Regions from separate parts of the Homo sapiens genome. Here region 2 is linked to region 1. The links are contacts of gene promoters, found by promoter capture Hi-C in blood cells and fetal thymus (Javierre and others, 2016). All regions are on one chromosome and are shown on one strand. Each heading gives the region's core, a stretch centred on a gene start or on the middle of the fragment in contact. The rest is flanking DNA. Distances are from core to core; before and after follow the strand shown. Region 1 holds the start of RPL35A (ribosomal protein L35a). Region 2 has its middle 45 kb from the start of LMLN-AS1.

The links. Contacts are between HindIII fragments. The CHiCAGO score rates a contact against its expected background, and 5 or more counts as called.
Region 2: a fragment that was not itself captured here is called in contact with the fragment with the promoter of RPL35A in region 1 in 3 of 17 cell types (megakaryocytes, total B cells and naive B cells); the score reaches 8.1 in megakaryocytes.

What each region holds. Positions count from the first base shown.
Region 1 is chr3:197,947,800-197,953,167 of GRCh38, forward strand. RPL35A (ribosomal protein L35a) reads left to right here and starts at 2,391. Exons shown (of 5, transcript NM_000996.4): 1 at 2,391-2,422; 2 at 3,137-3,179; 3 at 3,360-3,512. The coding sequence starts at 3,169. All of the region lies in intron 2 of DRC9 (dynein regulatory complex subunit 9), which reads right to left. RefSeq lists enhancers at 1,794-2,013, 2,093-2,875, 3,659-4,440. The HindIII fragment of the contact is 8,868 bases long and covers 1-3,322 here.
Region 2 is chr3:198,081,272-198,087,288 of GRCh38, forward strand. No RefSeq gene overlaps it. Among named protein-coding and RNA genes, the nearest start is that of LMLN-AS1, 45 kb to the left of the region's middle. The HindIII fragment of the contact is 2,455 bases long and covers 1,998-4,452 here.

The sequences.
Region 1 (5,368 bases), core at 1,141-3,640:
CCTCTATCAAAGGTCATGGCTCCTGTCAGGCAATTCTCTCCAAACGTCTCTCTCTGGGCTTAGGTAACTATTTCTTTCCTAGGTCCCGGGAGACTCCATCATCCCTTGTAGTTTCACTCCTGCTTTACCTTTTTTTTTTTTTTTTTTTTTTTTGAGACGGTCTCACTCTGTCACCAAGGCTGGAGTGCAGTGGCAGGATCTCAGCTCACTGAAACCTCCCCCTACCAGGTTGAAGCGATTCTTGTACCTCAGCCTCCCAAGTAGCTGGGATGACAGGCACACACCAACACCCCTGGCTGATTTTTGTATTTTTAGTAGAGACAGGGTTTCACTATGTTGGCCAGGCTGGTCTCAAACTCCTGACCTCAAGTGATCCACCCACCTCAGCCTCCCAAAGTGCTGGGATGACAGGCGTGAGCCACTGCGCCCGGCCCATACTTTGTTTTAAAAAGTATTCTTATCATGCTCTACTAATGGTCATCACCTGCAGTTTGAAAAATGCCTTAACTGACACTTGTCCAAGTGATCCTTTCGCTGACTCGTCAGGCCAGATCAGGCTTCTGGGCACTCATGCCACTACTTTCCCGCAGAGCTGTGTTCACAATTTGTTACGTTAGTGTCAGTTTCCCCCCACTAGACAACTGTTCCATGAAAGCAGCAACATGACAACGATGCTCACAGTTGTATCAGGTGCTAAGTCTCAGTGCTCAATAAGTATTTGTGGAACGAATAATACACGAGCAAACGAATGAAACTCACACTTAATGTGTTATTCCTCCCAGGAGGACTTCCATATAGAACTTTGACAAATCAATATCTAATAGTGAAATTTCTAGCACATTTCTTTCTGGGACAGGGAACACTGGGTGGGGTAGTAGGCTACAAGGTACAAGTTCTATCCTGTTGTATTTAAGAGAGGATCTGATTTTAAAAGTGACTTATATACATCTATTTCATACAACTTCGGAGTCATACTTTACTCTCTCTCATTCCTCATCCACCAGCAAATCTTGCCAGAATTTAAATATATTCAGAATTCCAGTACTCAATATCCTCTGTTTACACACCATCACCTCTCATCATAGTCACTACAGGAACCTATAATTATCTTCCTGCTGATACCCTTGCCTCCCTTCACTTTCAACACAGTGACTTTGTCAATATAGAAGTCAGATAGAGTCACCCTTCTGTTCAGGACCCTTAAATAGTTCCCATCTCAAAGCAGGGGAAGCCTCTTTTACATACTTCCCATCTCAAAGTGGGGAAAGCCTCTTTTACAGTGGCCTCTCTGCTTAATTTTCTTCACAGAAATTATCATCTTCTAACGTGTCATCTATTTTTACTTGCTCATTGTGTTGCTCCGCCTCGTAGGATATAAGCTCCACGAGGGCATAGATTTGTTTACTGCCGTGTCATCTTACACAAACCTTGGTACAGGGTAGTCATTCATTAAACTATGTGTTAAATAAATGAATGAATCCATAGGATAACCCAAATAAATATGCAATAATTCGGAAATGTGAATCTCTGGCGTCCACTAATCCACCTCTACAAGTATCTACGGAGGACCTACTAGGTGCGGACACGAGGCAGCTAAACGAGTTCTCCTAAAAGGGCGATAAAGCCTCCTGCAGGCAGTCCTCCTCATACCTCGGATCCAAAAAGAAGAATGGAGGTAAGAACTTAAGTCATTTCATTCATTTTTTTTTTCTTTTGTAGAGGTTGGGGGAGGTGGTCTCACTATGTTGCCCAGGCTGGTCTCGAACTCCTGGCCTCAAGCGATCCTCCCGCCTCGGCTTCCCAAAGAGCTGGGTTTACAGGCGTGAGCCACTGTGCCCAGTCTCATTTCTTGAAAGAGATAAATAAGTAGAGGGGAGAAAAGAAGTATAGAAAAAGAAAAAAGAGAAGGAAGAGGTCCTGCTGCCTTCGTGCTCCCGGCCTTTCTCTTCCATGCTAGATTAGGATCCCAGAATTTCCGTTCTGTCTATTGCTGTGTGTATCGAGAGAAAAGCACCCCACTGTTGGCAAATCAATCTTACAGTCAATCATTCTTTAGGCAGCGGGAACATCCTCCACTCAGGGTTCGCCTTTCCACCTACGGCGTCCGGGGACGCAGGAAGTAAACTAAGTTGTTTCTATGGCAACGCACAGCTTTGGCGGATTTAGCTGGCTACCATTTTGCCTTCCCTTGTTCCCAAGTAGTACATTTTGCAGCCTACCAAGATGAAAGGACTTAGGAAAATAATTGTAAGAGTGCTATTGAATGTGGCTTATTTCAGTGCGAAGCCGATTTCCGAGGATTGTTTTTCTGGCGTTTGGAGAAGATGCCTAAATTGAGGGCGGAGTCGAAAGATGTTTAATCCCACAAGGCCACGCGGCGGGGCCTCGTCCTTCTCTTACCGCCATCTTGGCTCCTGTGGAGGTGAGTGAAGGGTCTGCTGCTGAAATTTGGGGGCAAATAACCGGAGTAGGTTTGTTCCTGTGCCTTGGCGAGTCGCCGGTGCGTATCGGAGTCTCTGCCAGCCATTGATTTCTACGGGTTTCAAGAAGAGGGAGAACAGGATGGAGGAGATGTTGGGCTGATGGTGTTTGGTCCCCTGACACCCGGAGAACGGCTGCCCGGGTTATCCCAGTTAAATTCCTGGGCCTGAACGGAGTGAAACGATGTTTTTGTTCGTGTGCAGTTGTCCATGAGGCAGTGCTTCCTTCATCCGTTTCCTCCCAGTCCATACCTTCCTTGGCTTGTCTGACCAGTCTCTTTCCTCAGCTTTTCTCCCCCAGCCATTGCATAAAAGTCTTACGTGTGTGTTTCTCTTTAAGGCTTCATTTCTTTTCCTGAGTGTTGCCTACTGATAACGGCATGCATTTTCTCAGGCTTTTCTGAGAGTCATTTTTGTGACTCCTGTCCCTTAGTTTTGTCTTCATTCTGAAGTTTGCTTAGATACCAGCTGTTCTCTGAGGTTTGAATGTCTTGCCGGACCCTGCGTTTCATATGGATGTTCTGGCATTGTTGTCCCCGAACTCCTACATGAAACTCCCATCCAAAAGGAATTTGCTTTAGGGGCTTAAACGAGAGGGGACGAGGTGGGAAACTTGTGTGGCTTGGTTTTAAACTAATCTTTTTGTTTGTTTTAAGGCCTGCTGGGAACGGGACTTCTAAAAGGAACTATGTCTGGAAGGTACGCGTTTTAAATATAGTTCTTTATTTTTGTGTGTTAGACGTGAACGTAAATGCGAGCTTAAAATTGGCAAGAAAAAACTTAGATGTTTGCTCTGAGTAACTTTTGGGTGGGGGTGATTACAAGTCAGATTGGTTTTTTGAAGCTTATGTTTCATGTTGTGTATCTTTTGTGTCTTAGGCTGTGGTCCAAGGCCATTTTTGCTGGCTATAAGCGGGGTCTCCGGAACCAAAGGGAGCACACAGCTCTTCTTAAAATTGAAGGTGTTTACGCCCGAGATGAAACAGAATTCTATTTGGGCAAGAGATGCGCTTATGTATATAAAGCAAAGAAGTAAGTTTATGACACTGGTAGGTTTTGGGTTTTTGAGATCTGCCTCATTTTCTTTTTTATATAACGGAGTCTTGCTCTGTTGCCGAGGCTGGAATGCAGTGACTTGGTCTCCCTCACCGAAACCTCCGCCTCCCGGGTTCAAGCAAGTGTCCTGTCTCAGCCTCCCGAGTAGCTGGGATTACAGGCGCCGGCCACCACGCCCGGCTAGTTTTTGTATTATTAGTAGAGACAGGGTATTGCCATGTTGGCCAGGCTGGTCCCAAACTCCTGACCTTAGGTGATCCGCCCACCTCGGCCTCCCAAAGTGCTGAGATTACAGGCTTGAGCCACCGCGCCTGGCCTCATTATCCTATTGAAATAATAAACAAAAGATTTAGCTGAAGTACTTGGTATTGTTTTTTTGTTTTTGTGACAAGAGTCTCTGTTGCCCAGGTTGGAGGGCAGTAGCGCGATCTTGGCTCGCTGCAGCCTCTGCCTCCTGGCTCAAGCGATTCTCCTGCCTCAGCCTCCTGAGTAGCTGGGCTTACAGGGGTGTGCCACCACGCCCGGCTAATTTTTGTATTTTTACTAGAGAATGGGTTTCCCCATGTTGGCCAGGCTGGATTGGTATTGCTGTGGCTTCTATTTTGCGTCATTAAGGAACTTAATGGGGAGTTTTAGAAGGACGTTACTTCTGAGGGTGGTGTTGGATTTAGGTACCTTTTGCACTTGTAAGCAATAAAGGAGGTAATTCCTTATATTGTGATCCTTTTAAGGTTTCTAATTTTTTTTCTCGGCTCCTTTTGCCAGAATTTAAGGATTTTTAGAACACTTGTGCTTAATGCATTTTGTTAATGCCTTAAAATTATGGGTTTTTTTTTTTTTTTTTTTTTTTTTTGGAGACGGAGTCTCACTGTCACCTAGGCTGGAGTGCAGTAGCACAATATCGGCTCACCGCAACCTCCGCCTCCCGGGTTCAAGGGATTCTCCTGCCTTAGCCTCCTGAGTAGCTGGGATTACAGGCGGCCGCCACCATGCCTGTCTAATTTTTGTATATTTAGTAGAGATGGGGTTTCACCATTTTGGCCAGGCTGGTCTTAAACTCCTGAACTTGTGATCCACCCACCTCAGCCTCCCAAAGTGCTGGGATTACAGGCAGGAGCCACGGTGCCCCGCCCCTTGTTTTTTCTTTTCTTTCTTTTCTTTTTTTCTTTCTTTTTTGAGACAGAGTTTTGCTCTTGTTATCCAGGCTAAAGTGCAATGGCACAATCTCAGCTCACTGTAATCTCTGCTTCCCGGGTTCAAGCGATTATCCTGCCTCAGCCTCCGAGTGAGGTGGGATTACAGGCGTGTGCCACCACACCCAGCTAATTTTATGTTTTTAGTAGAAACGGGGTTTCACAGTGTTGGTCACTCTGGTCTTGAACTCCTGACCTCAAGTAATCCACCTGCCTCGGCCTCCCAGAGTGCTGGGATTATAGCGCAAGTCACTGCACCAGGCCAAAATTAGTTTTTATGCATGCCTAAAGATGTTTATGCTGTAGACTTTTTTTTTTTTTTGAGACAAAGTGTTGCTCTGTTGCCCAGGCTGGAGTGCAGTGGTGTGATCTCAGCTCACTGCAACCTCAGCTTCCCCAGTAGCTGGGATTACAGGCGCGCACCACCACACCCGGCTAACTTTTGTATTTTTAGTAGAGACAGGGTTTCACCATGTTGGCCAGGCTGGTCTCGAACTCCTGACCTCGTGATCCACCCGCCCCAGCCTCCCAAAGTGCTGGGATTACAGGCGTGAGCCATCGTGCCATTGCACCTTAGCCTGGACAACAAGAGCAAATCCTATTGTCTTCACCCACTCCAAGCCAATTAAAATCTCTGGG
Region 2 (6,017 bases), core at 1,975-4,474, 130 kb after region 1:
AGGGCGGGTTCCCGCCCCTGTGCAGCCGCCCCAGGGCCGACTGCCTGGCTCGGCCGCAGCCACTGGTACATCTGGCTCCGGTTCTGAGATGTTGGGAGTGCGGGCGGGCTCGGGGGTTGCCTGGAGGCTGCTGCCTGCACACAGAAGGCGGCTGCAGCTTGGGTGCCCAGGCGGGCTGGAGGGGCATGGCCTGGGCGGCCCCGGGATCGCCAGCGCGCCCAACTGAGGGTCCCCAGGACGTACCTCCCGCCCCACTCCTCCACCGCAGGGAGTTCGAGGCCGCTGGCATGGGCACTCGGCATTCACCCCGATGGGGTTGAGCGGCTGGTTCTCAGTTCTCGCCCCTGTGCAGCCGCCGCCGGGCAGAATGCCTGGCTTGGCCGCAGCCCTCGGGACACCTGGCCCTGGTTCTGCGATGCTGGGAGCGCGAGCAGGCTCGGGAGTTACCAGGCAGTTGTTGCCTGCACACAGAGGGCGACTGCAGCTTGGGCGCCCAGGCGGCGGAGCATGGTCTGGGTGGGCTCCAGAACGCGTGCGCGCCAGGCCTGTGGGCCCCCCTGGTGGTGCCACCCGCCCCGCTCTTCCTCTGCCGGAGCCTGGAGCAGCTGGAATGGCCACTCTGCAGTCACTGGGGATGGAGTTAAGTTTTCTTATCCCATGCATGCACACGAAAAGGTAACTATTATGTGAGGTAATTAACATGTTAATTGACTTCATTTTGGTAATCATTTCAGAATGTGCATATATAAACATATCACACTGTCCACCTTGAATATGTGCAATTTTTATTTCTCTATTAAACCTCAGTAAAGCTGAAAAAATTAACAAGATCAAAAGGATAACCCCGCAGTTTTATAGTAGTAGTTGGACACTTCAATACCTCATTTATGGGCAAGGACTTCATGTCTAAAACACCAAAAGCAATGGCAACAAAAGCCAAAATTGACAAATGGGATTAATTAAACTAAAGAGCTTCTGCACAGCAAAAGAAACTACCATCAGAGTGAACAGGCAACCTACAAAATGGAAGAAAATTTTCGCAACCTACTCATCGGACAAAGGGCTAATATTCAGAATCTACAATGAACTCAAACAAATTTACAAGAAAAAAAAAACAACCCCATCAAAAAGTGGGCGAAGGACATGAACAGACACTTCTCAAAAGAAGACATTTATGCAGCCAAAAAACACATGAAAACATGCTTACCATCACTGGCCATCAGAGAAATGCAAATCAAAACCACAATGAGATACCATCTCACACCAGTTAGAATGGCGATCATTAAAAAGTCAGGAAACAACAGGTGCTGGAGAGGATGTGGAGTAATAGGAACACTTTTACACTGTTGGTGGGACTGTAAACTAGTTCAACCCTTGTGGAAGTCAGTGTGGCGATTCCTCAGGGATCTAGAACTAGAAATACCATTTGACCCAGCCATCCCATTACTGGGTATATACCCAAAGGACTATAAATCATGCTGCTATAAAGACACATGCACACGTATGTTTATTGCAGCACTATTCACAATAGCAAAGACTTGGAAGCAACCCAAATGTCCAACGATGATAGACTGGATTAAGAAAATGTGGCACATATACACCATGGAATGCTATGCAGCCATAAAAAATGATGAGTTCATGTCCTTTGTAGGACATGGATGAAATTGGAAATCATCATTCTCAGTAAACTATTGCAAGAACAAAAAACCAAACACCACATATTCTCACTCATAGGTGGGAATTGAACAATGAGAACACATGGACACAGGAAGGGGAATATCACACTCTGGAGACTGTGGTGGGGTGGGGGGAGGGGGGAGGGATAGCATTAGGAGATATACCTAATGCTAAATGACGAGTTAATGGGTGCAGCACACCAGCATGACACATGTATACATATGTAACTAACCTGCACATTGTGCACATGTACCCTAAAACTTAAAGTATAATAATAATAAAATAAATTAAAAAATTAATGGATAGAAAAACCAGATAGAAGCTTGATGAGAAATGGAAGACCTGAACAACAGTATAAGCCATTTAGAGCTAATACACATATGGAGAACAGTCCACCCAACAACAGCAGAATACACATTCTTTTCAAGCGGATATGGAACTTTCTCTAGGATAGGCCATATCTTCGTCCACAAAATATGTCCTAATCATTTTTAAAACCTTGAAATAATACAAAATATAATTTACAATCACAATGGAAGAAACAACAGATACATAAAAAATGAAAACTGGAAAATTCACAAATATGTGGGAATTACAGAATACACTCTTAAACTAACAGTGAGTGAAGGAATAAATCACAAGCAAAATTATAAAACATCTTGAGACAAATTAAAATAAAAACAAAACATACCAAAACTTATTGCATACAGTGAAAGTAGAATTCAAAGGAAAATGTATGGCTATAAACAACTACATTTAAGAAAAAATCTCAAATCAGTAACTTCACTCTATACCTACGGGCAGTAGAAAAAACAAAAAAAGACTAAATCCAAAGCTGGAAGAACGAAAGAAATAATAAAGATTAGAGCATAAATAAATAAAATAGAAGGTTGAAAAGCAGTGGAAGAAATAAACATAGCTAGAAGTTGATTCTTTGAAAGATCAAACCTTTCACTATATTTACTGAGCAAAAGATGGAAGACTCAGTATTAAAATCATAAATGAAAGTGGCACCATTACTACCAACTTTACAGAAATAAAAAAGGATTATAGGACTATACTGTGAACAACTGTATAACAACAAATTAGGTGCCCTGGATGAAATGGATGAATTGCTAGAAAGACACAAACTACCAAAATGGCTCAAGAAGAAAGAGAAAATCTGAATAGACAAGGAGATTGAATTAGTAATCGAAAGCGATATAACAAAGAAAGATTTATGACCAAATAGCTTCATTAACTGGTGAGTCTACCTAACATTTGAAGAATTAACACCATTTCTTCCCAAACTTTTCCGACAAAATGTGTGAAGAAGGAATACTTGCTAATTCACTTTTTGATAACAGCATTATCCTGATACCAAAGCCGAGATCGCGCCATTGCACTCCAGTCTGGGCAACAAGAGCGAAACTCCGTCTCAAAAAAAAAAAAAAAAAAAAAAAAAAAAAATCAGTGTAATATACTATAATAGTAAAATGAATAAGCACATGATTATTTCAGTTGATGCAGAAAAAACATTGATGAAATACAACACCCGTTTATGATAAAAATACTCAATAAACTAGGCATAGAAAGGAACTTCTGCAATATGACACTAGGATATATAAAAAACTGACAGTTAATATCATGCTCAATGATGAAACACTGAAAGCTGTTTCCCTAACATCTAGAACAAGGCAAGGATGGTGACTTTGCCCCTTCTATTCAACATAGCACTGGCAGTTCTAGCCAGAGAAATTAGGCAAGACAAAGAAATAAAAGGCATCTAAATTAGAAATAAAAAAAGAAGTAAAATTATATCTACACATTATCATATATCTATGAATCTCCAAAGAAAACACAAAACCCATTAGAACTAATAAAATAGGCAGGATGCAAGACAAACATATGCAAATTAGTTTTATTTCTATATAGTTGTAATGAACTATCAAAACATTTTTAAAATCCCATTTATAATAGCATCCAGAAATAAGATATTCAGGCATCAATCTAACTATGGTGGTATACACAAAACTTTGCTGAAAGAAACTAAAGAGAGTTGAAATAACTGGAAAGATATTCTGTGTTCATGGATTGTAAGACAATATTGTTAATATGTCAATACCATCTATAGTAATCTATAGATTCAATGCAATACCATCAAAACCCCAAAGACATTTTTTGCAGAAACAGAGAAACTCATTCTAAAATTCATACAAAAACTCAAAGGATCTGACATAGATGAAACGATCTTGAAAAAGAACATTGGAAAACTCACATTTTCCAGATTCACAACGTGCTACAAATCTACAGTAATCAAGAGAGTGTTTTACTGGCATAAGACCAATTGACATTTAGACCAATAGAATAGAATTGAGATCCTAGAAATTAGTCTTCACATATATGGTCGACGACTGTTCAACAAGGGGGCCAAGACCAGTCAATGGAGGAATGAACAGTCTGTTCAACAGCTGGGTATCAGTGCACAGGAGAGAAGTTAGACCCTTGCCTTGCACTATATACAAAAATTAACTCTAAATTAACAGAAGACTTAAATATAAGGACTAAAATGTGTAACTCTTGGACGAAAACACACAGGAAACCTTCATGACCTTTGAGTCTTAAGTGTTTTTTGAAATATGACAGAAAAGCACAGATAACAAAAGAAAAAATACATAAGTTAGATTTAATCAAAAACTTTCATGCATCAAAGGACACTATCAAGGAAATGAAAAGACAACCCATAGTATGTGAGAAAATATGTATCTGATAAAAGAAAAATGTGTATCTGATAAAAGCTTAATATCTCAAAACTCAACAACAGAATTTCTAACATCCCAATTAAAAAATAGGCAAAGGACCTGAATAGACGTTTCTCCAAAGAAGATAAACAAATGTCTAATAAGAACAAGAAAAGATGCTCAACACCATTATTCATTGATAAAATGGAAAACCAAACCAAAATGAGATGCCACTTTGCTTCCACTAGTATGGCTTTCATAACAACGACACAGAAAATAAATGTTGCTAAGGAGGTGGAGAAATTGGAGCCCTCATGAACTGGCTGCTAGGAATAGAAAATGATGCACTTGCTGTGAAAAACAATTTGGTACTTCCTCACAGAATCACACAGAGAACCAGAAATTCCACTCCTAGGTATGATACACAAAAAAGTTGACAGCAGGGTCTTGAACAGATATTTTTACACCAAAGTTAATTGCAGCATTATTCGCCATAGCCAGAGACAACCCTTGTCCATCAACGAATGGATACACAAAATATAATACATAAATAATAGAATATTATTCAGCCATTAAAGGGGATGAAGTTCTGATACATGCAACATGGGTGAAACTTGGAAACATGATGCTGAGTGAAGTAAACCAGACATGAAATGACAAATGTTGTATGATTCTGCTGATATGAAATATCTAGAACAGGCAAATCTGTGAAGACAGAATGAAGATTAGTGTTTACCAGAGACTGGGGAGAGGAAGTAATGGTGAGTTACTGTTTAAGGGTACTTTATTTCTTTTTGTGATGGAAATGGAGATGCTGGTTGTACAACACTGGGAATGTACTTAATGCTATGAATTATGTACTTAAAATTGTTAAAATTTTAACACAATTAAAAAATTTAAATACAGATCTGATAATTATTTCTATATCCATTGTTATTTAAAAGTTATTTGCTCAGTTGCCAAATATTAAGGTTTTTCTGAACATATTTTTGTTATTGATTTTTAATTTAGTCCTGTTTTGCTCAGAGCACAAACTGTCTATGATTTAATTTCTTTTATATTTAGTGAGAATTATTTGATGGTCCAGTACTTGATCTATCTTGATTAATGTTCCACAGACATTTGAAAAGTAGATCTGATTATCATCACCTTTACTCTGTTGATGTCTGTTTCACATTTTGAAGTTTCATTAGGTTCATCCATTTAAGATTGTTAATTTTATGAACTGGCCTTTTTTGATTATGACCTGACACCTTTATCTTTGGCAGTACTCCTGTTTTGAAGACCACTTTATCTAATATTAATATGGGCACACCATGTAGGGTTAGTATTTGCATGGCACATTTACATCCATACCTTTGCCTAAATGATGTAATAATTACTTTCCAAAACCACCTCCAAAGATGTTCTAAAACTATTATAATTAGGGATAGTTTCACCAGATCTTTCAAGAACTTTTAAATACCAGGGCTTAGATGACACTGATACCAGGGTACACAAAAATGCCATTAAGATACCTATTATAATTGGAATTTTCAGGGATCAGCTGATAAATGGCTTTCTGGTCCGCCTTTCTCTCACATTAGTCTAATGGGTTTGTTAAACTACCCTGTGTTCATT